3 separate regions of the Homo sapiens genome follow, and all the other regions are linked to region 2. Evidence: promoter capture Hi-C in human tissues and cell types (Jung and others, 2019). All regions are on one chromosome and are shown on one strand. Each heading gives the region's core, a stretch centred on a gene start or on the middle of the fragment in contact. The rest is flanking DNA. Distances are from core to core; before and after follow the strand shown. Region 1 has its middle 14 kb from the start of RECK. Region 2 holds the start of IL11RA (interleukin 11 receptor subunit alpha). Region 3 has its middle 3.2 kb from the start of ARHGEF39.

The links. Contacts are between HindIII fragments. The study calls those that stand out against the background at their distance.
Region 1: a fragment that was not itself captured here is called in contact with the fragment with the promoter of IL11RA in region 2 in 1 of the 25 tissues and cell types used here (spleen).
Region 3: a contact is called between a fragment that was not itself captured here and the fragment with the promoter of IL11RA in region 2, in 1 of the 25 tissues and cell types used here (dorsolateral prefrontal cortex).

What each region holds. Positions count from the first base shown.
Region 1 is chr9:36,021,393-36,025,162 of GRCh38, reverse strand. It overlaps the pseudogene OR2AM1P. Among named protein-coding and RNA genes, the nearest start is that of RECK, 14 kb to the left of the region's middle. The HindIII fragment of the contact is 5,782 bases long and covers 1-3,770 here.
Region 2 is chr9:34,650,740-34,653,439 of GRCh38, reverse strand. It overlaps IL11RA (interleukin 11 receptor subunit alpha), which reads right to left and starts at 1,255. Exons shown (of 13, transcript NM_001142784.3): 1 at 1,207-1,255. GALT (galactose-1-phosphate uridylyltransferase) reads right to left here. Exons shown (of 11, transcript NM_000155.4): 11 at 2,405-2,700. RefSeq lists a silencer at 1,200-1,299. The HindIII fragment of the contact is 13,062 bases long and covers 1-2,700 here.
Region 3 is chr9:35,666,468-35,670,234 of GRCh38, reverse strand. No RefSeq gene overlaps it. Among named protein-coding and RNA genes, the nearest start is that of ARHGEF39, 3.2 kb to the right of the region's middle. The HindIII fragment of the contact is 9,733 bases long and covers 1-3,767 here.

The DNA.
Region 1 (3,770 bases), core at 889-3,388, 1.4 Mb before region 2:
ATTCTGGACCCCTTTCATGTGCCATCGGGGCTGAGAGTGTCTTGGAATTGGTGGTCTGTTGCAGGCCCAGTCCTTCTGGGCTTGTAGCATCCATAAGATGTTGGTCATTCTGGAGAAGTAAAGAACCATAAATATTCATGGATTCGCCCTTAACAAATATGGACTTTCTATCAGAGGTTTTATTTTCTCAACATCACCCACAACCTCTAGCTTGGGCACCAGCCCAGGATGGAGAAGGTGTTAAATTCCTCCCTATCCAATCAATAGAATCTTACACTAGTTCTATCTTTTCTGATTATCCTCTTCAATCTGACCAAGCTTCTAGCTAAGAAAGCACTCCATTTCTCCCTAAGGACATTGGAAACCTTAATTATTATATCGTGAATTCTCTTGCCTATACCTTTTAGTAAAGATAAAGGTAAACCCAAACTGCTGATAACCCCCAATTTTGCTCTTAATCTATAAAAGAGAAATTCTGGATTTTTAAAAACTCTCTTTTCTCTCAGAAAGCCTAATTTTTTTGAGATGAGGTCTCACTCTGTTGCCCAGGCTGGAGTGCAGTGGTGCAATCAAGGCTCACTCTGTGCAGCTTTGAACTCCTGGGCTCAAGTGGTCCTGCCCCAGCCTTCCAAGTAGCTGGGACCACAGGTGTGTGCTGTCACACCCAGCTAGTTTTAAATTTTTTTGTAGAGATGGGGTCTCACCATGTTTCCCAGGCTGGTCTGAAACTCTTGGCCTCAGGTGATCCTCCTGCCTTGGCCTCCCAAAATGCTGGGATTACAGGTGTGAGCCACCATGCCTGGCCAGAAAGCCTAATTTTTAAGATTATTGTCTAATTTGACACTCTAAGAGAAAAACAAACGTTTCATTCTAGGGAGTCTTTGTTCATCTCCATGAATTAATGAAACTATTGATTGAATAGGGGGAGCAAATGGGCAACTTGATTTTGGGAATATAAAACCACACTGGTCAAGGGTATCTCTTCTGGCAGCATGAACAATTAGATTCTCTGAGTATTCTCGTCTTGCTGAGTGTGAAACACAACTGAGCATGCTGAATAAAATGTAAAAACATTTTTTTAAAAGGTACTGATGAGCTTTCCAGAAACTAAGGGATACTCAAAGGCCAAAAATTAAGTGAAATCTGCAACCCAGAGACTTAAAAGCATTGACATTTTAGGCTTTTGCTATGAGGGAATTTGCCGGGCTGATGAACACCTCACAGGCTTGCTGATGCCCAAGGGCTTGGCTCACAGTAGGAGACTTGCGCGAGGACGTCTTCCTACCCTGCCTCTTCCTTCAGCCCTCCTGCCCTGGTCCCACATCTTCTAGGGCTTTGCTCCTCAAAGCGTGGCCTGCAGAGTTCAGCAGCATAGACATTACCTGGAAATCTGTTAGAGATGTAGAATGTCAGACCCTACCTCAGACTCACCGAATCCTTATCCACATTCTCAGATAACTCATGAAAACATTCAAGTTTGAGAAGCACCTATCTCAGGAGCTTGCAGAAATTTCAATTGTCAGCTTCAGCAATGTCCACCAGGTGGCAGGTTTGCAGCAGGCACAGGTAGCTAGAGCTGCAACCAGCCACCCAATTCTGTAAGTGGCACTGGAAGTTAGGAACAATTGCTCACGAACTGTGGAGGGAATGAATGGAGGGGCGACCCCAGAGGAGACCCCTAATCAAAGAGTGGCGGGTGGTGGGGTGCGAGCCATGAGTTCCCCCTCTCTGGCAGTCCCCAGTTGTATTGGCTAGTGACAGGGACGGGCTATACGCTCTCATTTTACAGACAAAGAAATCAAGGCCCAGAGAAGGAAGGAGACTTAGCCAAGTGCTCAGCAGCGGGAAATAGTGTTAGGGCTGGACTTGGAAGGCAGGTGTCAGGCTGCCTGGCCTGGGCTGAAAGCACTCTGTGGTCTATGCTGACCTGAGCGGCTGCCTCTCCACTCCCTCCCCTCAGATGCTCTTTGAACAGCTATCTTGTTTTCTCTGGAAGTGCTAGAAGCTGCTGTTATAATAATTCAATTCGGATGGCCAGTGGTATTTCCACATGATATAGTTTGGATACTTTCCTCACCCAAAACTCATATTGAATTGTAATCCCCAGTGCTGGAGCTGGGGCCTGGTGGGAGGTGTTTGGATCACGGGCAGATTCCTCATGGCTTGGTGCTGTCTTTGTGATAGTGAGTTCTCCCAAGATTCAGTTGTTGTAAAGTGTGGCACCTCCTGCCTGCTCTCTCTCTCTTTCTCTCTCTTTATCTTTCTCTCTCTTTCACTCACTCCTGCTTTGGCCATGTGAAGTGCCTGCTCCCACTTCACCTTCTGCCATGAGTAAAAGATCCCTGAGGCCTCCCCAGAAGTTAAGCAGATGCTGGAGCCATGTTTGTATAGTCTGCAGAACCATGAGCCAGTTAAACTTCTTTTCTTTATAAATTACCCAGTCTCAGGTATTTCTTTATAGCAGTACAAGAATGGCCTAATACACCACAATACTCAAGGTCCTGTGGCTAGAATCACTGCCTTGGAAGGTCAACTTTGAAAGGACCTCAAAGCCATGCAGTCTAAAACTAGCTTCTAGCAGGGGAGAGAAACAGCTAAGGTCCACGGAGGGGCTCCGACGGCCAGCCCCCACCCCAACCCCCACTGCCATGTCTTGTCATTAGTTCATTTGGGTTTTTTGTTTGCTTTTTTGTTGCTTTGTTTCTTTGGTTGCAATTATGCCTACTCTCATGTCAGAAAGGATTTGTGGTAACCCAAAAATGTATTCAAGGCCAAAAAATTAAAAATAGATAGGTAAGGAAATGGGGCAATGGGAAATTAAAAGTAGAAATGTGGGGGCACTTTCCCTCTAGGTCCTTTGATAGAAGCTTCCATTACTTGTGACACAACAGGGGACACTCAGTTTACTTGTTCGTCCTAGTCCCATGGTTCATGGCCTGGACCTTGGGAAAGTCCCTTCTTTCCTCTGAGTTATCATTTCCCCATGAGCACAGTGAGGTGCTTAGAGATCATATGTTCTGGCCACCTGGGATTCTGACAGTCTGTCATTCAGTTAGGGGTTTCTGAAATACCAGGTTCTTCACAGCAGCCTTCACACCCTTTTTCCTCAGGCTGTAGATGATGGTGTTCAGCATGGGGGTGACCACTCCATAGGAGAGGGAGATGAGTTTGTCTGCAAAATCCTGCTTGTCTGCCCCCAGTGGGTCCTTCGACTTGGGCTTCCCATGCGTGAAGAGGATGGTCCTGTAGAAGATGACCACAACTGTGAGGTGGGCAGAGCAGGTGGAGAAGGCCTTTTGCCTGATCATGTTGATAGAGATGTCAGCACAGGCCAACTTCAGGACAGCCAGGACCTCACAGGTCAAGTGGTTGATGATGTCCCCATAGAAGGGCAGGTGACTGATGACATTTAGTCTCTTCCCTTCCCTTAGGGCAGATGGGCCAAGAACTCCTCTGCTCTGGTGATATCAGCCAGGAGTCAGTCCCAGGTACCCTGTAACTCCAGTGCCAAGACTTTAAACTTTTACTGACCTTTAAGTAAATTTCACTTCACCAGTGAGCCTCTATGACTGGATAGCAAGGGGCCTCCTGCACGTTTTGGCCAAGTTGAAGTTCAGTTATCTCTGAACTTCCCTCCTCCTCATTCCCCATCAGCTCTCACGAAAGACACTGACTTGCTTCTGAGGCTGGTCCTGAGATTTCCCTTGCTTTTTTCAGGGAACTAAAAATCTCTCTTTCGGATTTCTAGGTGCTCACATGTGATTTATCCT
Region 2 (2,700 bases), core at 6-2,505:
GTTCCCCCTCCCCTGGAAGTTCCAGCCATTTCTCACCTCCCCCTCCATTCTTTGGGCCCCAGCACCAGGAAATGCCTTTGGTCCCTTGGTGCCAGATACACAAGACCCACAGTTACCCTCAGACTCATACACTCTCACATGCGGTCACTCACAGTCACACGGGCACAGCCACACCGCCTCAGACTCAGACACACTTACACATATTCATACACTCACGCAGTCACACACGCACACAGCCCCTACCAGGGCTCACAGCACCGCCTAAAAGCAACTCTTCATCATGGTCTAAGCCCCCTCTCTCAGGGAGCTCTTAGCCGGGGCAGACCCGCATCTCATCACTGTTACAGGCCCCCAACTAGCCAGAGATCAAGATCAGCAGGGAAGGCAGGCATAGGGGCACAGAGAGAGACAGAGAGAAAGGAAAGGCAAAACTGGAAATGCACCCACACAGAGAGACCAGGGGAACAAAGCTGTGAAGAAACACACAGAGGTATCTCTAGTAAGACAGCAATAGGGACAGAAAACGGCACGTAAGGGAAACTGAGCCAAGCAGGGAAACAGAAAATAAGGAGCAGTAGACCTGATGCTGGGGATTCTTGAGCAGAGGAAGGAGGGGAAGCCACGTGTGTTGTGGGTGTGTCTGTCAATGCTGGACACTTAAGAGAAAGGTCAGTCCCATGGGCTCTTGAGGTAGGTCCCCCAATACATGAATACAGCTGTACTCCCACACGGTTTAAGTTAGGACCCAGGACACACACATAGTCACAAACCTCACTTTTGCTCTGCTACTGCTGAAGTCACACATTGGCACACACAAAGCCAGCCACCCACTCTCACGCTGGCAGACATGGTCTCAAACCCCACAGAGACCTTCCCAAAACACATTCCCTCATGTGGTCACAGTCCCTCTCACACAAACACACAACCCAGTCCCACCAAAAATGTGCATTGACAGATACACACATAATCCCACACTTGCACAGCCACATGCACCTCCAGCTCCATGCACACTGACACACGCAGTCACATTAGCTGACAGCTGCACCAAGTGACACTCAGAATCGCACACAATGATACTGTCACACAGACACAGCCTCACAGGCACATACACACTGACAGTCGTTAGTCACTCCCGGCCTTTCAGATCATACATCACCCTGCCCCGCCCACTCCTGACAAGACTTTGGCGTCTACACCAGGCCTCACCTTCCGCGGCCGCTGCCGCCAGCGCCCTCTGCCCTCGCCCTCGCCCTCTGCCCCGGCCTCTACTCCCTCCCGCCCTGGGCCCCCGCAGCGGGGGTGGCTCCGCCCAGGCGCCAATGGAAGGAGAGGAGTGAAATAGGGGGGCTCCTGGCCCATTGGAGACTCCAACTGCCAATCACCTCCACCCCCACCTCCGCCGGACACTTCCTGTCCCGTCCCGGACTGAAGAGGCTGCTTGGGACAGAGTCTGGAGCTGGATTCCTGGGTCTCCGCCTGAAGGCCTATCCACCCTGGAACAGCAGGACTGGAAACAAGAGCCACTGGCCAGGTGATTGGAGAAGCTGAAGGTGCCCCTGACTCCAGATAAGATAAAGAAGAAGGAGGGCTGTGTAGGGCAGTGGTTCTCAAACTTTGCTGGATATTGTGGTTTGAAAACTGCAAAACCCCACCCCATACCAATTAAATCAGAGTCTCTGGAGGTTGGACCTAGGCACCAGTATTGTTTAAAACTTCCCAGATGATTCCAAAATGCAGCCAAATCAGAGGTGTAAGGTGTGTCGGGTATATGTATGCCTCAAGAAACCAGCCACCCACTCAGGGTTCTCATCTACTCCCCAGTCATGGGAAGCTCGAGGGAAATGTGTGCATACTATGTCTATCAGATCTTCCAGACCAGGGCAACACTCCCAAGTTCCAGGTACTTCCCCTCCAGGATCTCAGGGAAGAAAAACCCTGGTCTGGAAGGCAGGCAGCCAAGTTTCTCCTGGGCCAGATTCAGTCACTGTCCAGCCTTAGTGTGATTTCCCCACCCACAGGCTTGGTTCCCCTGGGGAAAGAACGAAGGCAAAAACCATTCTGGCCATCCCTGCATCATTCACAATGCCTGCCTTCGCCTTAAAATTTGGAGGACACCAGTGGCATCAGGTCTCCTGTGTTGCATAGACTGTTGTTCCCACAGCGTTGCCAGGGAAACAGGTCCAGAGGGGACTGAATAGACCCCAGGTCACTCTGAGAGCCATACCTTCCTTCCAGGCCCTAGGGTTCCTAACTCTAGCAGTCCCTTCTCTGTCAGAGCTGTTTCTGTTTGTGCAATGATTGGGGCACAAGGGCAGCAGAAGTATATGGTGCCCGCACATGTGAGAGTCTGGAGGAGCCAAGGACACAAAGCCACGTACACGCTCCCTACACACTCCCTACCCGCCCCTTTAGCCCCTGTGGGCTGGAGCAGAGCCAAGCTGCAGCCACTCACAAAGCCAGGGTTCTGGCCAGCAGCCCAGGATCTGGCCACTGACCACTGGGATCAGGATCCAGCTCACCCGCTCCCCATCAAACCCTCAGGCCCAGGCTTGGAGCTGACACCCTAGGGGTGGTGGCAAAGGGGGCTCTGGCCTTCCCAAAGCCTCAGCCACAACCAAGACACAAGATTTTAAAACAGTTTCCTAAACTGGGAATGCTGTCATTACACCAAGAGTAAGAGAATCTATAGGCTAGATATAA
Region 3 (3,767 bases), core at 1,056-3,555, 1.0 Mb before region 2:
CAGGCACAAGCCACCACCCCTGGCTAATTTTTTTATTTGTTTTGTAGAGATGGGGTTTCGCTATATTGCCCAGGTTGGTCTTGAACTCTTGACCTCAAGTGATCCTCTGACCTCAAGTGATCCTCCAACCTCAGCCTCCAAAAGAGTTGGGATTATAGGCGTGAGCCACCATGCCTGGCCCAACACCACATTTTTGTGGCACTCCAAATCATCTGTGTTGTCGGATGACTGTCATATTGTACAACAAAATATATATGACTGAATAACAGCTGTCCTCCAAATGGTCAACCTCAGATGTAGTCAGCCTAAGATTCTAGGGTGCCATTTCTGGAGCCAAATTCAGAGCTCTCCATGGCAGTGTGGTCCAGGGTACACTCTGGATGGCCAGCTGATTGTCTTGGTCAGCTCTGTCATTAGCTTGGAACTTGCTTGGCCCCTGACATATGGAAGTACATGGTAATATCTGAATTGGATGGGCCTATACAAGACAGAATGTGGTAACGACTAATCCAGCTCTCTGTTACAGCTCACTCATTTTTCAAATGCGATTCCCTATGGCTCTGTTTCTCTGTCTCTCTCGTCTCTGGTCTGAGTGGAGAATGTGGACTCTGACCCTGGATCATGCTGGGAGTCTGCCAAACCCTCAAACAGGTTTGAGTTATTGTTTCCTGAGTCTCCCCGGGTTGGGACAGAGTATACTCAGGACTGACTGACCAGGGCACCCCACACCTGGATCAGGACCTCTCTGTGGTTATTATAGGCCAAGTGTTTGCTCATGAGGGTTTGTGTTTTCAAACACTGAGGGGTCATGTTACTAAAACATGTCTCTGCCTATCCCAGCATGGCAGAGGAGGAAACTATTCACTGGTGGGGTAGAAGGGAAAATGCTCCCTCTCCCAAGCCATAGCTTGGGGGCAAAGACTGATCAAATTCCTTGTAGAACCTTGAGGCTGACTTGTAGTTCTGGCTACCTCCCCATCTATATTCATTTCCAAGGGCTGCTGTAACAAATTACCACCAAGTGGGTAGCTTAAAACAACAGAAATGGATTTTTTCACAGTTCTGGAGGCCAGAGTCTGAAATCAAGGTTTTGACAGGACTGGACTCTCTCTGAAGGCTCTGGGGAAGAATCCTTCCTTGCCTCTTCTAGCTTCTGGCGGCTCCAGGCATTCCTTGACTTGTAGCTGCATTACTCCAACTTCACATGGCCTTCTCTTGCCCCTGTGTCTCCACTGGGTGTCTCTCACTGAGACACTTGTCATTGGATTTAGGGCCTACCAACATAATCCAGAATGATCTCATCTCAAGATCCTTAACTAATTATGTCTGCAAAGACCCTTTTTCCCAACAAGGTCACATATACAGGTCTTGGGGATTAGGACATGGACATGTCTTTATATGGGGCCACCATTTAGTCCACCATCAGTGCAGGGGAACTGACGTGGACGCACAGGATGAGAAGGGATGAGTTCGTATTGAAGACTCTCATGCTTTTGCCCTTATCCTGCTACTTATCTTTGCAAGGCCGTGTCATCCACTCCCATGGCTCCTATAAATTGATGACACCCAAGTATTCCCAGGCTGGACTCTCTCCCCATGCCAGACCCATAACCATCTGCCTAATAGACAAGACCCAAGACATCTCCACTTGGATGTCCCACAAGTATTTCAAGTTTAACAGGCCCCAGGTTGAATTTGTCTTCCCCGCAAATCTCCTTTTCATCCTCCTTCAGTGAATAGCACCACCCTCCACCTAGAAGCCAGAAACCTGGTACCATCTCTACTTTCATCTTTTCCTTCACCCTAGCATTCAATAACCATGCCCTATGGATTCTACCTTCTAAATTTTTCATCTACATTTTTCATCTTGGCTCATACTTTCGTCACCTCTTACCTGGATGACTGCAACTGCCTCCTGATGGGTCTTGCTGAGTCCAGCCAACCAGAGTGATGTTTCTAAAATGGCACATCTGATGATCTCACTCCCTGTTTAAGGCCTTTCAATGGTTTCCCATTGCCCTTAGGATAAGGTTCACAGTACCTGACGTGGCCTTCAGAGGGCCGCCATTGCCCTGGTTTCCATGGTGGGCTTGTGACCTAGGGAGGTCCAATCAGTGAAGCTCTCTGTCTGAAGTATTTGATGGCTAAGGGAACCAACTCTGCGGACAACACATAAAGAAGCACACAGCCATTGTAACTGTGGGCAGCCATCTTGTACCCACAATGGAAGCCAGCCTTAAGATGAAGGTAAAACCATGGAAGGCACAGTGGAGTGGTGGAAAGAGGTCCTTGGTAACATGATTGAGCTGCTGGATTAGGCCAACACTAGGGCCCACCTGCTTCTGGACTTTTCAGTTGCATGAGCCAATAAATTATCTTAATGTTTAGCCACTTTGAATTTATTATTACTTATATCACAATTTTACTGATATAAATTCCTTCTAAGTTTGGCCTCTGTCTACCTCTCCAGTCTCCTTTGTCATCACTCTCTCCCTTGCAGTCTATGCTCTCATCTTACAGAACTTCTAGCAGTTCCTTAAATTCATCGTATGCTTGCATATGTGTGTGTCCAAGCCTTTGTCCATGCTGTTTGACTCTTTTTTCCACTTCCCTTGCTGCCAGCGCCCAGCTCTGCCTAGCCAGGTTTTATTCATCCTTCAGGTCATCAGTTCACATATCACTTCTTTGAGAAGAAGCCTTCCCTGACTCCTACACTAGGATCAGTCCCTTCACTGCATGCTTGTGTAGAAGACTACATGTCTCTTGTAATGTTTCCTCATTTTATGGTGACTCCTTACTGTATCTGCCATGCTGGAGTGTAAGCTCCCTGTGGGCAGGGGTCATATGTCTCTTGCCCACCATTTCATCTTCATGCCTAGCACAGGACCTGGCACATGATTGGCATTTAATTTTTTTTTTTTTTTGAGACAGAGTTCCGCTCTTATTGCCCAGGCTGGAGTGCGATGGCATGATCTCGGCTCACTGCAACCTCTGCCTCCTGGGTTCAAGCGATTCTCCTGCCTCAGCCTCCCAAGTAGCTGGGATTACAGGCACGTGCCACCATGCCCGGCTAATTTTGTATTTTTAGTAGAGACGGGGTTTCACCACATTGGTCAGGCTGGTCTCTGACAACACATAAAGAAGCACACAGCCATTGTAACTGTAACTCCCGACCTCAGGTGATCCGCCTGCCTCAGCCTCCCAAAGTGCTGGGATTACAGGCGTGAGCCACCATGCCCAGCCTAATTTTGTTGAATGACTGATGATTGTTGTTCAAAGCATCCCTAGTGCTTCTCCAGCATCCATCGGATTGAAAGCAAAATTTGAGGATAATTAAAGAATAAAGGGGTTATTGACTATCCTCTGAACCTCCTCCTGTTGGCCCCTCCTATCTTTGGCTGTGGGAGCGGAGTTTAGCAGCTGTTCCAGGTAGAGTATGGTGTGCCTGACTTGCTCTGTGGGAGACTCGGTCCCCAGGGAATTAGTTGTCACCAACTGTTTTCAGTGTGTCTTCTCGGCTTTGCCCTCTTCCTCTTCTAGAGTTGAATGATTCCCCAACCGATGCTCACAGGAGGCTCTATTCCCCACCCCTCTTCCACCCACCCAAAGCACTAACACACACTGGCAGCATTCACAAACACACCCATCACCAACTGCACCCCAGGTGTTGTGGTCTACTCTCATCACCTGGGCTCACAGTGACACCAATTACCATGGGATTATCTGTCCTCTTCCATGTTTGAGCTCTTAGTGTGTGGACTGTCCCA